Linked DNA regions of Homo sapiens: all the other regions are linked to region 2. The links are contacts of gene promoters, found by promoter capture Hi-C in blood cells and fetal thymus (Javierre and others, 2016). All regions are on one chromosome and are shown on one strand. The core of a region is centred on a gene start or on the middle of the fragment in contact, and the rest is flanking DNA. Distances in the headings are between cores, read along the strand shown.

Region 1 (4,096 bases), core at 566-3,065, 380 kb after region 2:
CACCCGGCTAATTTTTGTATTTTTAGTAGAGACGGGGTTTCTCCATGCTGGTCAGGCTGGTCTCGAACTCCCGACCTCAGGTGATCCGCCTGCCTCGGCCTCCCAAAGTGCTGGGATTACAGGCGTGAGCCACCGCGCCCGGCTGCATCTTATCTTTTAAAAGCTTCCCACATATAGGCTATCTTGATTGTGATGGATATATACATACATCAAAGCTTATCAAATTGTGCACTGGTAAATAGGTATAGCTTGTTTGATGTCAGTTATTATCTCAATAAAGCTAATTTAAAGAAATAAAAAACTCCCCAGGTGATTCTAGTGGGCATCCCAAAATGAGAAGCATTGAGCTAGGTCAGCCTCAGCAACAGCCCCAGGAAGGAAGACATCTGCTCCGGAATCGCGTCGTGACCAGCAGCGCCCCCAGGACTTAGACCGCATGAGTCCTGTGCTGTTGATCCAGTGGTCTTGCCTCAAGACCAAAATGATAGAACATTGCTGAGCTTCTCCCAAAATTAAAAAGAGGCACCTAAAAATTTTGAACTGAGGCTGGGCGCGGTGGCTCACGCCTGTAATCCCAGCACTTTGGGAGGCCGAGGCGGGCAGATCACGAGGTCAAGAGATCAAGACCATCCTGGCTAACACGGTGAAACTCCATCTCTCCTAAAAATACAAAAATTAGCCGGGCGTGGTGGCGGGCGCCTGTAATCCCAGCTACTCGGGAGGCTGAGGCAGGAGAATGGCTGGAACCCGGGAGGCGGAGGTTGCAGTGAGCCGAGATCACACCACCGCACTCCAGCCTGGGCGACAGAGCGAGACTCTGTCTCCAAGAAAAAAAAAAAAAATTGAACTGCTAGGATTGTTATTCAGAGGTGTGGGGTATGTAAGGAAAAGAAAAATCCCGAAACAACAAAACACCCCCGCAGCCTTTAGTTGGCAGAGTCACGGTTTAGAAGGCAGTTGGTTGTCCTTTGGGGGTATTGCAGGCCCGCCTCCCTCGCTCTACCCGCTGGGCTGTGGAGCCCGTACGGCCAGTGAGGAACGCGGCACACCAGCAGCTCTCTCATCCAGCTGGCTGCCGATCTCCTTAACTCCAGGCTCACTAGTTCCAACTGCCTTTTCTGTATTTCCACCTCCGATTTAACATGTTCAAAACCGCACTCGTTACCCTCACCCCCCAATCTTTTTTTTTGAGACAGAGTCTCGCTCTGTCACCCAGGCTGGAGTGCAATGGCGCGATCTCGGCTCACTGCAAGCTCCGCCTCCTGGGTTCCCGCCATTCTCCTGCCTCAGCCTCCCGAGTAGCTGGGATTACAGGCACCTGCCACCACAACCGACTAATTTTTGTATTTTTAGTAGAGGCGGGGTTTCACCACGTTGGCCAGGCTGGTCTCGAACTCCTGGCCTCAGGTGATCTGCCCACCTCAGCCTCCCAAAGTGCTGGGATGACAGATGTGAGCCACTGCGCTCGGCCCCTCACCTCCCAATCTATTCCTCCTTTTCAATACCCTTTCTTAATAAGCAGTACCTTATAAATGTCTGCACCAAAAAGCTTCTCACTCTTGACATACAAATGGTGTCCACATGTGTTCCTGCATTCTCTTAAATACATCCCTCCTCCATCTTTAGTCACCTTAGTTTAGGTCCTCATCATTTTCTGCCTAGACCTCCTGACTCCCACCTTTCAGATATTGGTTTTTGTAGCTAATCATGCCCCTGCTGAAAACTTTTGAATGGCTTCCCCCATGAAAAAATAGACAAAACCCAAACTATTTGGTATGGCAATTATAATCCAGACGCAATTTCCCTGTTCCATGCCCTCCCCCACCACTTGTCCAGCATGGTTCCAGACATAGCGGACCTATCTGTGCCTCCGTATCATAGCACGTCCTATCCCACTTGCCTGGAACAGTGGATTTATCCTCATTAGCTCCCACCTACTATCTTCTAAGCTCAGCTTAAACATCGCCCCAGGTTAACTATTCCCTCTCCTATGCCACCCTGGACCTCACCTGTAATTTCGTTAAAGCAGTTACCTCAGTTTCACAGTAGTCTGTTTCCACATTTGCTTTCACAGAAGCTTGTCAGCAACTTCGATTTTTCCTTCTCATCTTTCCATCTCTAGTACCTGGTAAAAGCCTGCTAGATAACGGATGTTAGAAAATAATTTGATGAATGATCTTTCCTGCCTTTTTCATTCTGTCTACATTACCAAGTGGATGACTAGTAGCTGGGTGGGCAGGGAGATCCTTCAAAATTTCAGAAGCTCAACTATGGCCATGTAAAACCTAGAGTGGCCTCCGTGACTCCGTCGGCACTGAAGTTCCTGTAGGCTGTGCTCAGAAGGGTGGATTGCGCTGGGCTTTGCCACCAGTCTCTGCTCAGAGCAGTGTCTTTGCTACCAACATGTCTTTTAGCAAAGTAACCATCTGTCCGTGCTATTCTGGGCAATTGGATCATGAACTACATCACTCTTTGGCCTACTGAGGGGTTAGAGATGTCATCAACAACTCTCATTGCAACCTTAAGCCTCCTTTCCTTCCAAGGTGAAGATGACCAACAAGGGGGCACAGATCAATCATATGCTCTTTAAACATGGGTTGGGAATATGAACAAGTTAGCTATATTAAAATAAACAAAGATATCTGGTCTGTTCCCACTACAATATGCCTCTAATGAATCTAACTTGAGACGCTAGAATTTTAATACATTATTTCAGGGAGACTTTCTTAAGGGAGCTATGACCTCAAAACCATTACTTGATTTTATCCCCATTTTATTTATACAGGAAAGGGGGCAGAAATATAACATGGTGTACAAGTATCATATCATATCATAGACAGGACTTGACTTCTCTAATCTTTTCTTAATGTTTTCCTGCCTTAAACAGAAATTAAACACTATCAACAGGGTGACCTAAGGAAACTCCCCAAATGATTCCTACTTCTTGAGCCACTCATCATGAAATCCTACATACAAAAGCTGAATAACAATCTTAAATCTTAAAGGGCTACTTCTTTCAGCAAACTATTATTCTGAAGACTAGAGAACATGTTGCTCTCAACAGTATTTTAGTGAACACATTAAATAAGAAGCAAACAGTTCGAGGGAGGATCCAAAAAAGAAATCAGGACAACAGACTGGTAAAGCTGTCTCTGGCGTCTCTTTCCACTAAACAAAGCGGCAAATACAGAACATTTACACCTATTTTTCTTTTATAAAATTTAAATGCTTTGGGCTGGGCACGGTGGCTCATGCCTGTAATCCCAGCACTTTGGGAGGCCGAGGCACACGGATCACCTGAGGCAGGGGTTGCAATGAGCCGAGAGCACATCAACTGCTCTCCAGCCTGGGTGACAGAGCAAGACTTTGTCTCAAAAAAAAAAAAAAAAAAAAAAAAAAAAAAAAAAAAAAAAAAAAAATTAAAATGCTTTGAACTTTAACATATCAGCCAACTTGTTTAGCAACATCATCAACTGATTCTCTTTTAAGCTTTTGGATCACAGGAGCCGTGTATTCAGCCAGTTCAGGAATAGCATGCCTGTCTCTCATAATTCTTGGCAAACAACTGCATTATCAAACAAATGTCAGCAGGAGGGTGGGGTGGGGGGCGGTAGAGGCAATTGGGAAATAAGACCCTAGTGAATTACTGTTCTCTGTCCACTTTCCATTCTAAACATGGGGAATGTGGATTCTATTATTAAAGCCATGGAATTTATAGGTAAATTCCATCACCACCTCTGGCTATTAAGGCACCCCAATTTTTCTTTCTAACCAATGTGTAAAAAATGTCTTTAAATGTAAGCAATCACAGGTGGTTAATGTTTAACTTTTTATTAAGAAACTAAGGCAAAACAACAGAATTCCAAAAAATAAAGATACAGAATTCTAATTTAAATTCTAAACAAATATAAAAATCAGAGTTTACCAGTATTTTTGAGTAGAGGGGAGTGGCTAAATGCATTCACAGTAATTATTTCTTCCTTACCAGCCTCAAGTTTGCAACCCTTTCCTTCCTGCTTCACTGGGACTAGAACAGAATTTCTCATTCATCTTTTGCTACTATAATTTTTGCTTCTATAGTCTAAAACTTCAGAGG
Region 2 (4,565 bases), core at 1,800-4,299:
AACCAAGCCATCCCGCCTACTTCCAGGCATTTTATCCGAGAGAAATGAAACATATGTATATTCAAAAAACTTTCTAGGAAGGCTCAAGTCAGTTTTATTCACAATGCCTTCAAACTGGAAACAACCCAGACATCCAACAACAACCCCGCATCCTCCTTTGGGGTCCTGAGAGGGTGCCTCCCCACCAGCCCAGCTTGGCCAACTTTAGTCCATCCATCAATGTCCAAATGGACAAACAGCCTGTGGCATATCCATACAATGGAATACTACTCACCAGTGGTAAGGAGGGAACTTGATACACACTTTAGTAAATACCTGAAATTTTAGGTTGCTTCAGTATCCATTTTGAATATAGGGTTAACAATTTCATACTAGAAGCAGGGCTTAGTCACCTTGGATACAGTTTCCAGCTCTCTGCTGGAAACAGTATCTCAACACATTCCGTCCAGATATCTGGTCCTAGGTAGCCACCTCCTGGTAACTGCCTCCTTGTGGGATGTATACATACAACCAACTAGACTCACCCCACTGACGCCCACACCCTGCATGGACTATGCAGATATGTCTCAGTGACCACCCCTAAGTCACAAGGTGGCCCCACAGGACTCCAGTTCGCTCCTCTAGGTGAACCAATTAGAGCTCCCCTTGGGAAAACTGCTTGAGTAATGCCCTGCACTCCAATAAAAGCCTCAGCCCACAGGTCCGTCTCTCTCTGGCTCCCCCCACCCCCACAACGATTGTGTACAGTGTCCCCAAGACATTCCCGACGGCCCTCAGTGTGCCCTCTTCCCCTGTGGATCTGTAAGTAATAGGACCACTTCTGTTAGTTCCTGTGTTTCGTTGTGTTGCCTGCTCTGTGTCATGCCTGACTGAGACGCTCAAACGTAACGTTTTCCCTGGTCAGGGCTTTCCCTAGAGAGCAGCTATCTTGGTAGGAATAAACTAGATACAGGTCAGACAAGAAGCACAAGGAGATCTGCCAGGATAAATATGTCTCCTGGGAGAGGGACACCCGGTCACAGGTCAGCCAGGATACAGAGGTGCCCCATGAAAGGCCCACGGCAAACACCCACGCCCAAATCCCAGGAGCCCTGTCAGGGCAGAGTTGGCCTTTACAGTGGCTCTCCAGGGAGGTCTCAAGACCAAGGTAGAGGAAAATACAACACACACACGCCACACGGGCGACGCTCAGCTGCATGGTGCCAAGCGAAGAAAGCCAGGCACAAAAGACCACACGGTGAATGGTTCTCCTTGCATGCAATTGCGAGAGAGGCAAAGGGCAGTGACAGAAATCAGAGGAGCAGTTGTCTGGAACCAGGGCGGAGGGGAGGTGAGGGGTTAGCTGCAGAGGGGCAGGAGGGTACTTTTGGGAGGAGAGGACTTCTTGAACTCGGGGGGAGACTAGCCTGGTGGTTTCGCGTGTCAGAAGTCATGGAACTGAGCCGGGCATGGTGGCGGGGCCTGTGGTCCCAGCTGCTCGGGAGGCTGAGGCAGGAGGATCGCTGGAGCCTAGAAGTTCAAGGCTGCGGTGAGCCGAGATCGTGCCACCGCACTCCAGCCTGGGCGACAGAGACCCTGTATCTAAAAAATAAAGGAAAAAATTCATGGAACTGTATACTTCCATGTACTGTACTTAAATTTCCTGGTATTTATCGTATGTATAGAATACCTCACATCTTAATAAAGTCGTCGTTTTTAGTGTGAGGGGTGCTATGGGGCACGGAGGGCGATCCGGCTGCCGACCCTCGGCGGCGGCGCGGGAGTGCGAGGCCGGCGGGGAGGTCGGGTCCTGCGGCCTCGCCGGGGCCCCTGCAGCGCTCTCCCGCCAGGGGGCAGCGTCGGGCCGGCGGCGCGGGCGGGAAGCTCCAGCGGCCGGGACGCGGTGGTGCCGTCTTCCCCCTGCGGTGAGGGACCGCGTCGCGCCACCCCGCTCTCAGCGCAGCCCGCAGCGGCGAGGCCACCGGGTGGGACACGGGTGCCCGCGCGTCGCGCCGCAGCTCGCGGGGACCTGGCGCCCCGTCCCGGGAGGGGATCTGGCCCCCGGGCGCCGGCTCTCCGTCCACGCGGCGTCCTCCCTGCAGCCCGCTAGGGCCGCTCGCCCGTCGCCGCCTGCGGAACGCGGAGGGGCAGCACGGCCACGCCCGGCCACTCGAACCTGCTCCCCGGCGCCGCGTGACCGTGTCAGGTCCCCGTCGGCCTCGCCGTGCCGACCCCGGGCGCCTCCACAGTGGCTCGGAGGCCGCTGCTGCCCGGATGCCCGGGTTCCACGAGGCTCTCCCAGCCCGACAAGCCCGCCGATCCCACGGGCACGGGCGGAGGAGAGGGAACCGCCGCGCCCGCCCCGCGCGCCGTCGCCGACCCCGGTGGGTCGCGCTTCCCCGCGCACGCCGCGCTCTGGCGCGGGGAGAGGCCCCTCGGGGTCCGCCCGGGTCAGCGTCCCGCGGGGGTGGCGGCCGTTCGCTCAGCCTCCTCTCGACTTCCCTTTCCTGTCAGGGCTGCTGGGGCTGACAGGCTCCCGGGCAACCACGCCGGGGAACCCCTCACGCCCGCCGATCGCTGCGGGGCTCAGCAGCCGCCCCGTGCGCTGAGTCCCCTGTCATGAGTGACTCCATTGCGAGGCGTTTCGGGCCACGAAGCAGGACCGGGGGCCGCACTCCGGGTCCCCGCCCTGCCCTCGCCGACCTCCCGCGCGTGGAAGGGGGACGGCGGCGGCGGAGCTCCCCGCCACGGAGAACCCCGAAATGGTCATTTCGAACGAGAGGAGTGTGGCCTGGGGTGTCTGGTTTAACAGCCCCCCGCGCCGAAAGGCTGTTCGCCGAGGAGGGGCCGCCGGGGAGGGAGCCCGAGCGCGGCGGGGCGAGACCGGTCCCCGCCCGGCGTTGCCCGGCCCGAGGGACGGCGGCGCCCCCAGGACCCTCCCCAGCGCGGCCCCAGCTCGCTCCGGGACCGCGGGGCCAGGCCGGGCGGGAGCGCGGGGACGTACACGGCGGCCCCGCCCGCGCGCTCCTCCTCCCTCCCGGCCCGCCCTGCGCCGGCGGCGGCGGCCCCAGTCTCCGCGCTGCTGAGGCGCGCCCGGCCGCTCCCACGGCCTCCCCTCCGCCCTGCGGTCCCGCCGCCTCCGGGGCCTCCTGGGACCCTGGCCCTCGCCGGGCAGGACGCCGCCAGCGCTGAAGGCGCAGCCCGGAGGCCGCGCGGGTGAGTCGGTGCGCAGCCCCAGCGGCTCCAGAGGAGCGGGTGCGGGGAGGGCGAGCGGACCAAGTCGGCCGCGTTCCCACCTTGCGCGCAGCCGGGAGACCAGCAGGCCCAGCCTCTAGGGAGGAGGGCAGGGGAGCTGGGGGCCGCCCCCCGCATTCTCGCAGGCACCTGTCCCTAGGCCGGGGTCCGCTGGCTCGAAGCACTGACCCGCCCCGGACCTAGGGGGACGGAGGCAGCGGTGACATTTGCCCAGGAAGGGCGGCAGTGGGTAAACTCCACTCCAGGGCACGGGTCTGGGCGCAGGTTGAGGCCTGGGGTTGAATCTGCTTCTGCTAGAGGCCAGTGTTCTCAGGGAGGCCCATAACCCGACTGGGTCTCAGTTCCCCCTGGTATGAAACAGCAACAGGGCAAGAGGAGGAAACCATGCCACGCTGCAAAGCTCTGAGCACGAAGCCGAGAAGAATCTCGGCTCCCGGCCTCGGGGGCTGCACTTCGGGCCAGGCCTGCACTCCCAGGATAAGAGGATGGCCTCCTGCCCCAGGGGTGGCATGGGGGCGCGCAAAAAGCAAAGGTGACCCTGCCAGGGAGCACCCAGCGCTCCGGTTGGTGGTCATGGGGTCTTTGCGTGGGACTCACAGTGTGGCCGGGAAAGTTCTGTAATGAGGACATTTCTCATCATTCCTTCTTCTCAAAAGTCATTCGTCAGCCCCAGACACCTTTGCCTCGGAAAACTGAGAACTACTTTCAAAATCGTCAACACCCCCATCTCCTGCTACAGAGCGGAGTCCCCACTTTGCAGAGGCGCACTGCAAGGTCGCGGGTGGTTAAATGGTGCGCCCTCCTTGATGAAGATGCCTTGTTCTCTTTCACTCTCTATGTGTGTTTAATGTTGTGTGTTGCGTTCTCTGTGAAGCGAAGGATAAACACGGGCCCTTTCAGGCAACCGAAGGAAGAAGGCGGCCAGCATCAGATCTTCCCGTGCTTCAAGGTGGAGCACCCTGCAGGGCTTACTGCAGCGCTCAGGGTCAAAGTGAGGATGCAGTGCGGCACCAAAAGGCAAATGGACTCTGGAGAGCCACTCTCACCTTGTACCCCTGGAGTAGACCCCGAGGACTGGAGGACTGGAACAAGATCTTAGTCCTGAGGGCGGGAGAAGCAGCCTTTGGTGGTTGCACAGGGGCCCGGCTTTTCCCGAAGTCTTAAAGCCTGCTCCAAATGCCAGATTCAGACAAAGGGGCCGAACCTTGGGCCCGCCGCCTTCTCCCATAAGCGGCAACCCAGCAGCTTTGCCAGGAAGTTTACATGTGAAGGTACGGACCTTTCTTGGAATGAGCCACACCTGATGGCCCTGCCACTCCGGACGGCGCTCG
Region 3 (4,282 bases), core at 1,598-4,097, 440 kb after region 2:
CTACATTGGTGGTGGGAACGCACAGTGGTACAGCTACTCTGGAAAACAGTTTGGCAGTTTCTTACAAAACTAACCATGCTACTACCGTATTACCCATATTATCTGGCAATTGCACTCCTGGGCATTTATTCCAGAAAAATATTGGACACATATTTATAGCAGCTTTATTTGTGATAGCTCAAAACTGGAATAAGCCAGATTCCTTCCACAGGTAAATGGTTAAACAAATTACAGTACACCCATACTATAGAATACTACTCAGAATTAAAAGAATCAAACTTAGCTTAGCTTTTTGTTTGTTTGAGACAGAGTCTCACTCTGTTGCCCAGACTGGAGTGCAGTGGCATGATCTTGGCTCACTGCAACCTCTGCCTCCTGGGTTCAAGCGATTCTCCTGCCTTAGCCTCCTGAGTAGCTGGGATTACAGGCGCGTGCCACCATGCCGGGCTAATTCTTTGTATTTTTAGTAGAGACGGGGTTTCACCGTGTTAGCCAGGATGGTATAGATCTCCTTGACCTCGTGATCCTCCCGCCTCGTCCTCCCAAAGTGCTGGGATTACAGGCGTGAGCCACTGCACTCAGCCTATAATATCCTCTTAGCTTTTTGTCATCTGTTTACATGTATAATGATGTCCCCTTCTTCAATCCTGTTATTGGTTATCTGTGACTTCTCTTATTTATTAATCTTGTCAGGAGTTTTTCAGTATCAATAACCTTTTCAAAGAACCATTTAAAAATTGTTTATTTATTTATTTGGAGAGATGATCTCACCCAATTGCCAAGGCTGAAGTGCAGTGGCACAATCATAGCTCACTGCAGCCTCAGACTCCCGGGCTCAAGTGATCCTCCTACTTCAGCCTCTCAGGTAGCTGGGACTACAGGTGCACACTGCCTCACCTGGCTAATTTTTAATTTTTTGCAGAGATGGGATCTCCCTACGTTGCCCAGACTGGTCTCAAACTCTTGGCCTCAAGTGATCCTCCAACCTCAGCCTCCCAAACTGCTGGGATTACAGGCTCAACCCACCATGCCTCGCCTAAATTTATTTTTTAATGACAAAAAATATATATATTTATGGTACATAACATGATGTTTTGAAATATGTTTACATGTGGAGTGGCCAAATCAAGCTTGCTACCATATACATTATCTCACAAAAAAAGTCTGCTTTTAAAAAAATGCAACCCTCAAGTGGAACCAGAAAAGACATTTTATTTCTTTAGATATGTGGTCTTGGTAGGTTGCCCATGCCAAGCTCAAGTGATCCTCCTGCCTCAGCCTCCCAAGTAGTTGATACCACAGGCACACGCCACCATGCCCAGCTTCTTACCATTTTTTTTTTTGCGATGAATTGTTGCGGGAACTCAGGGACCCTGAACGGAGGGACCAGCTGAAGCCACGGCAGAAGAACATAAATTGTGAGGATTTCATGGACATTTATTAGTTCCCCAAATTAATACTTTTATAATTTCTTACGCCTGTCTTTACTGCAGTCTCTGAACATAAATTGTGAAGATTTCATGGACATGTATCACTTCCCCAGTCAAGACTCATAATTTCCTGTGCCTGTTTGTACTTTAATCTCTTAATCCCGTCATCTTCGTAAACTGAGGATGTATGTCACCTCAGGACCCTGTGATGATTGCGTTAACTGCACAAATTGTTTGTAAAACGTGTGTTTGAACAATATGAAATCTGGGCACCCTGAAAAAGAACAGGATAACAGCGATGTTCAGGGAACAAGGGAGATAACCATAAGGTCTGACTGCCTGCGGGGCCGGGCAGAACAGCGTCATATCTTTCTTATTGCAGAAAACGAGTAGGAGAAATATGGCTGCATTCTTTTCCCAGCAAGGAATCACCCTGGGAAGGGAACGCATTCCCGGTGGGGGGCATGGACGGCCGCTCTGGGGCTGTCTGCCTCATGCGGTTGAAGATAAGGGATGAAATAACGCCCTGCTCTCCTGCGGCGCCCCCAGGCTTGCTAGGATTAGGAAATTCCAGCCTGGCGAATTGTAGTCAGACCAGTTCTCTGCTCTTGAACCCTGTTTCCTGTTAAGATATTTATCAATGACAACGCGTGCACAGTGGGACGTGAAACCTCATCAGTAATTCTAATTTCGCCCTGGCCTTGTGAGCTTGCTCTGCCCTTATGCCCTTGTGATCTTTTATTGCCATTTGAATGAAGCGTGTGATCTCTGTGACCCACTCCCTATTCATACCCCCTCCCCTTTTGAAATTCCTAATAAAAACCTGCTGGTTTTGCGGCTCAGGTGGGTATCACAGAACCTGCCGACACGTGATGTCACCCCCGGAGGCCCAGCTGTAAAATTTCTCTCTCTTGTACTCTTTCTCTTTTTTTCTCAGACCAGCTGACACTTAGGGAAAATAGAAAAGAACCTACGTTGAAATATTGGGGGCTGGTTCCCCCAATAATGAACACACTTAAGAACTATTCTCTTAGCAAATTTCAAGTATACAATACAGTATTATTAACTATAATCACTGTGCTGTGTATTAGATCTCCAGAACTTATTCACGTTATATTGAAAGTTTGTACCCTTTGGCCAACATCTCCCATCTCCCCAGCCTCCTAACCAACCCTGGCAACCAACATTCTACTCTCTGTCCCTGCTTCTAGAAGTTTCACTTTTTTCAATTCCTCATATAAGTGAGATCATGCAGTACTTGTCTTCCTATGCCTGACTTATTTCTCATAGCATAATGTCGTCCAGGATCTTACATCTTGTTGCAAATGACAGAATTTCCTTCTTTTTAAAGGCTGAATAGTATTCCATTGTGTATATACACCATATTGCTTATTTACTTATTTTTAATGTCATCCATGATGAGCATGTAGCACATTTTTTCAGCATATTGTTTTTCAAATTAATTTTTTTTTTGTTTTGTAGAGATGAGGTCTCACTATGTTGCCTAGCCTGGTTTCAAACTCCTGGGCACAAGTGATCCTCTTGCCTCAGCCTTCCAAAATGCTGGGATTATAGGCATGAGCCACCATGCCTAGCATACCACATTGTTGATGGCTCCTTAAGTTGATTCCATATCTTGGCTATTATGAATAACGCTGCAATTAATGTGGGAGTGTAGGTGTCCCTTCAACACACTGAGTTCATTTCCTCCAGATATGCACCTAGTATATATCATTGCTGGATCATATGGTAGTCCTATTTTTAATTTTTTCAGAAACCTCCATACTGTTTTTCATAATGGCCGTAATAATTTACATTCCCATCAATAGTGCACAAGGGTCAAAGAACTAATATTTGCCTTTGATAATCCTTTCTATTATTTATTTCTTTCTATTTCATGAATTCCTGCTCTAATCTTTATTATTTCCTTCATTCTAATAACTTTAGGTTTAATTTGCTCTTTTTCTAACACCTTGAGATGAACACTTATCTCACGGATATGTCCAGCTTTTATTTTGCATTTGAGACAAAATTTCTTCAAAGTACAGTTTTAGCTACCTCCTTATTGTCTTATGTCACATTTTCATTGTTTTTCAATGAAACATTTAAAATTTTCATTGTATTTTCTTCTTTGAGACATGAATAATTTAGAAACATGGTAAAACACTGAAACTTTCTTCATGATGTTGGTAACAAGAGAATAGAATGAAGCCTATAATCCCAGCACTTTGGGAGGCTGAGGCAGGCAGATGGCCTGAGGTCAGGAGTTTGAGAATAGAATGAAATTCCCTTGATTAATTCTATTCAACATTCTGTTGAAGGTGTAGACATTACAACAAGACAAGAAAAAGAAATGAAAGACATAAGAATTGGAAAGGAAGAACTAAAACTGTCATTCACAGACAACATGATTGTGTTTGCAGAACAAGGACGGATGCGGTGACTCACGCCTGTAATTCCAGCACTTTGGGAGGAAAAGGTGGGTGGATCACCTGAGGTCAGGAGTTTGAGACAAGCCTGGCCAACATGGTGCAACCCTGTCTCTACTAAAAATACAAAAATTAGTCAGGTGTGGTGGCATGTGCCGGTAGTACCAGCTACTCAGGAGGCTGAGGCAGGAGAGCCACTTGAACCCAGGAGGTGGAGGTTGCAGTGAGCTGAGATCACGCCACTGCACTCCAGCCTGGGTGACAGAGCAAGACGAAAGAAAAGAAAGGCGGGCAGGCGGGCAGGCGGGCAGGCGGGCGGGCAGGCGGGCGGGTGGGCGGGCAGGCAGGCAGGCGGGCGGGCGGGCATCTACAGATGAACGACTAAGTGAAAAATGGGTTTAGTAAGGTTGCTGAATAAAAAGG

The links. The method cuts DNA at HindIII sites, captures the fragments that hold promoters and counts their contacts. A CHiCAGO score of 5 or more calls a contact.
Region 1: a contact is called between a fragment that was not itself captured here and the fragment with the promoter of PIGZ in region 2, in 1 of 17 cell types (M2 macrophages). The highest score is 5.2, in M2 macrophages.
Region 3: a fragment that was not itself captured here is called in contact with the fragment with the promoter of PIGZ in region 2 in 1 of 17 cell types (erythroblasts); the score reaches 5.4 in erythroblasts.

The regions. Positions count from the first base shown.
Region 1 is chr3:196,588,779-196,592,874 of GRCh38, reverse strand. FBXO45 (F-box protein 45) reads right to left here. Exons shown (of 3, transcript NM_001105573.2): 3 at 3,816-4,096. Among named protein-coding and RNA genes, the nearest start is that of FBXO45, 22 kb to the right of the region's middle. The HindIII fragment of the contact is 528 bases long and covers 1,552-2,079 here.
Region 2 is chr3:196,967,317-196,971,881 of GRCh38, reverse strand. PIGZ (phosphatidylinositol glycan anchor biosynthesis class Z (Gwada blood group)) reads left to right here and starts at 3,049. Exons shown (of 3, transcript NM_025163.4): 1 at 3,049-3,195. LOC124906255 (collagen alpha-1(I) chain-like) reads right to left here and starts at 2,749. Exons shown (of 3, transcript XM_047449439.1): 1 at 2,633-2,749; 2 at 1,670-2,486; 3 at 71-1,581. The coding sequence starts at 2,749. The coding sequence ends at 1,671. RefSeq lists silencers at 1,710-1,929, 1,940-2,259, 2,370-2,429, 2,540-2,599, 2,610-2,819 and 1 more and enhancers at 1,865-2,400, 2,401-2,936, 2,937-3,472. The HindIII fragment of the contact is 27,924 bases long and covers 1-4,565 here.
Region 3 is chr3:196,531,225-196,535,506 of GRCh38, reverse strand. No RefSeq gene overlaps it. Among named protein-coding and RNA genes, the nearest start is that of SMCO1, 18 kb to the right of the region's middle. RefSeq lists an enhancer at 1,761-2,374. The HindIII fragment of the contact is 3,429 bases long and covers 1,133-4,282 here.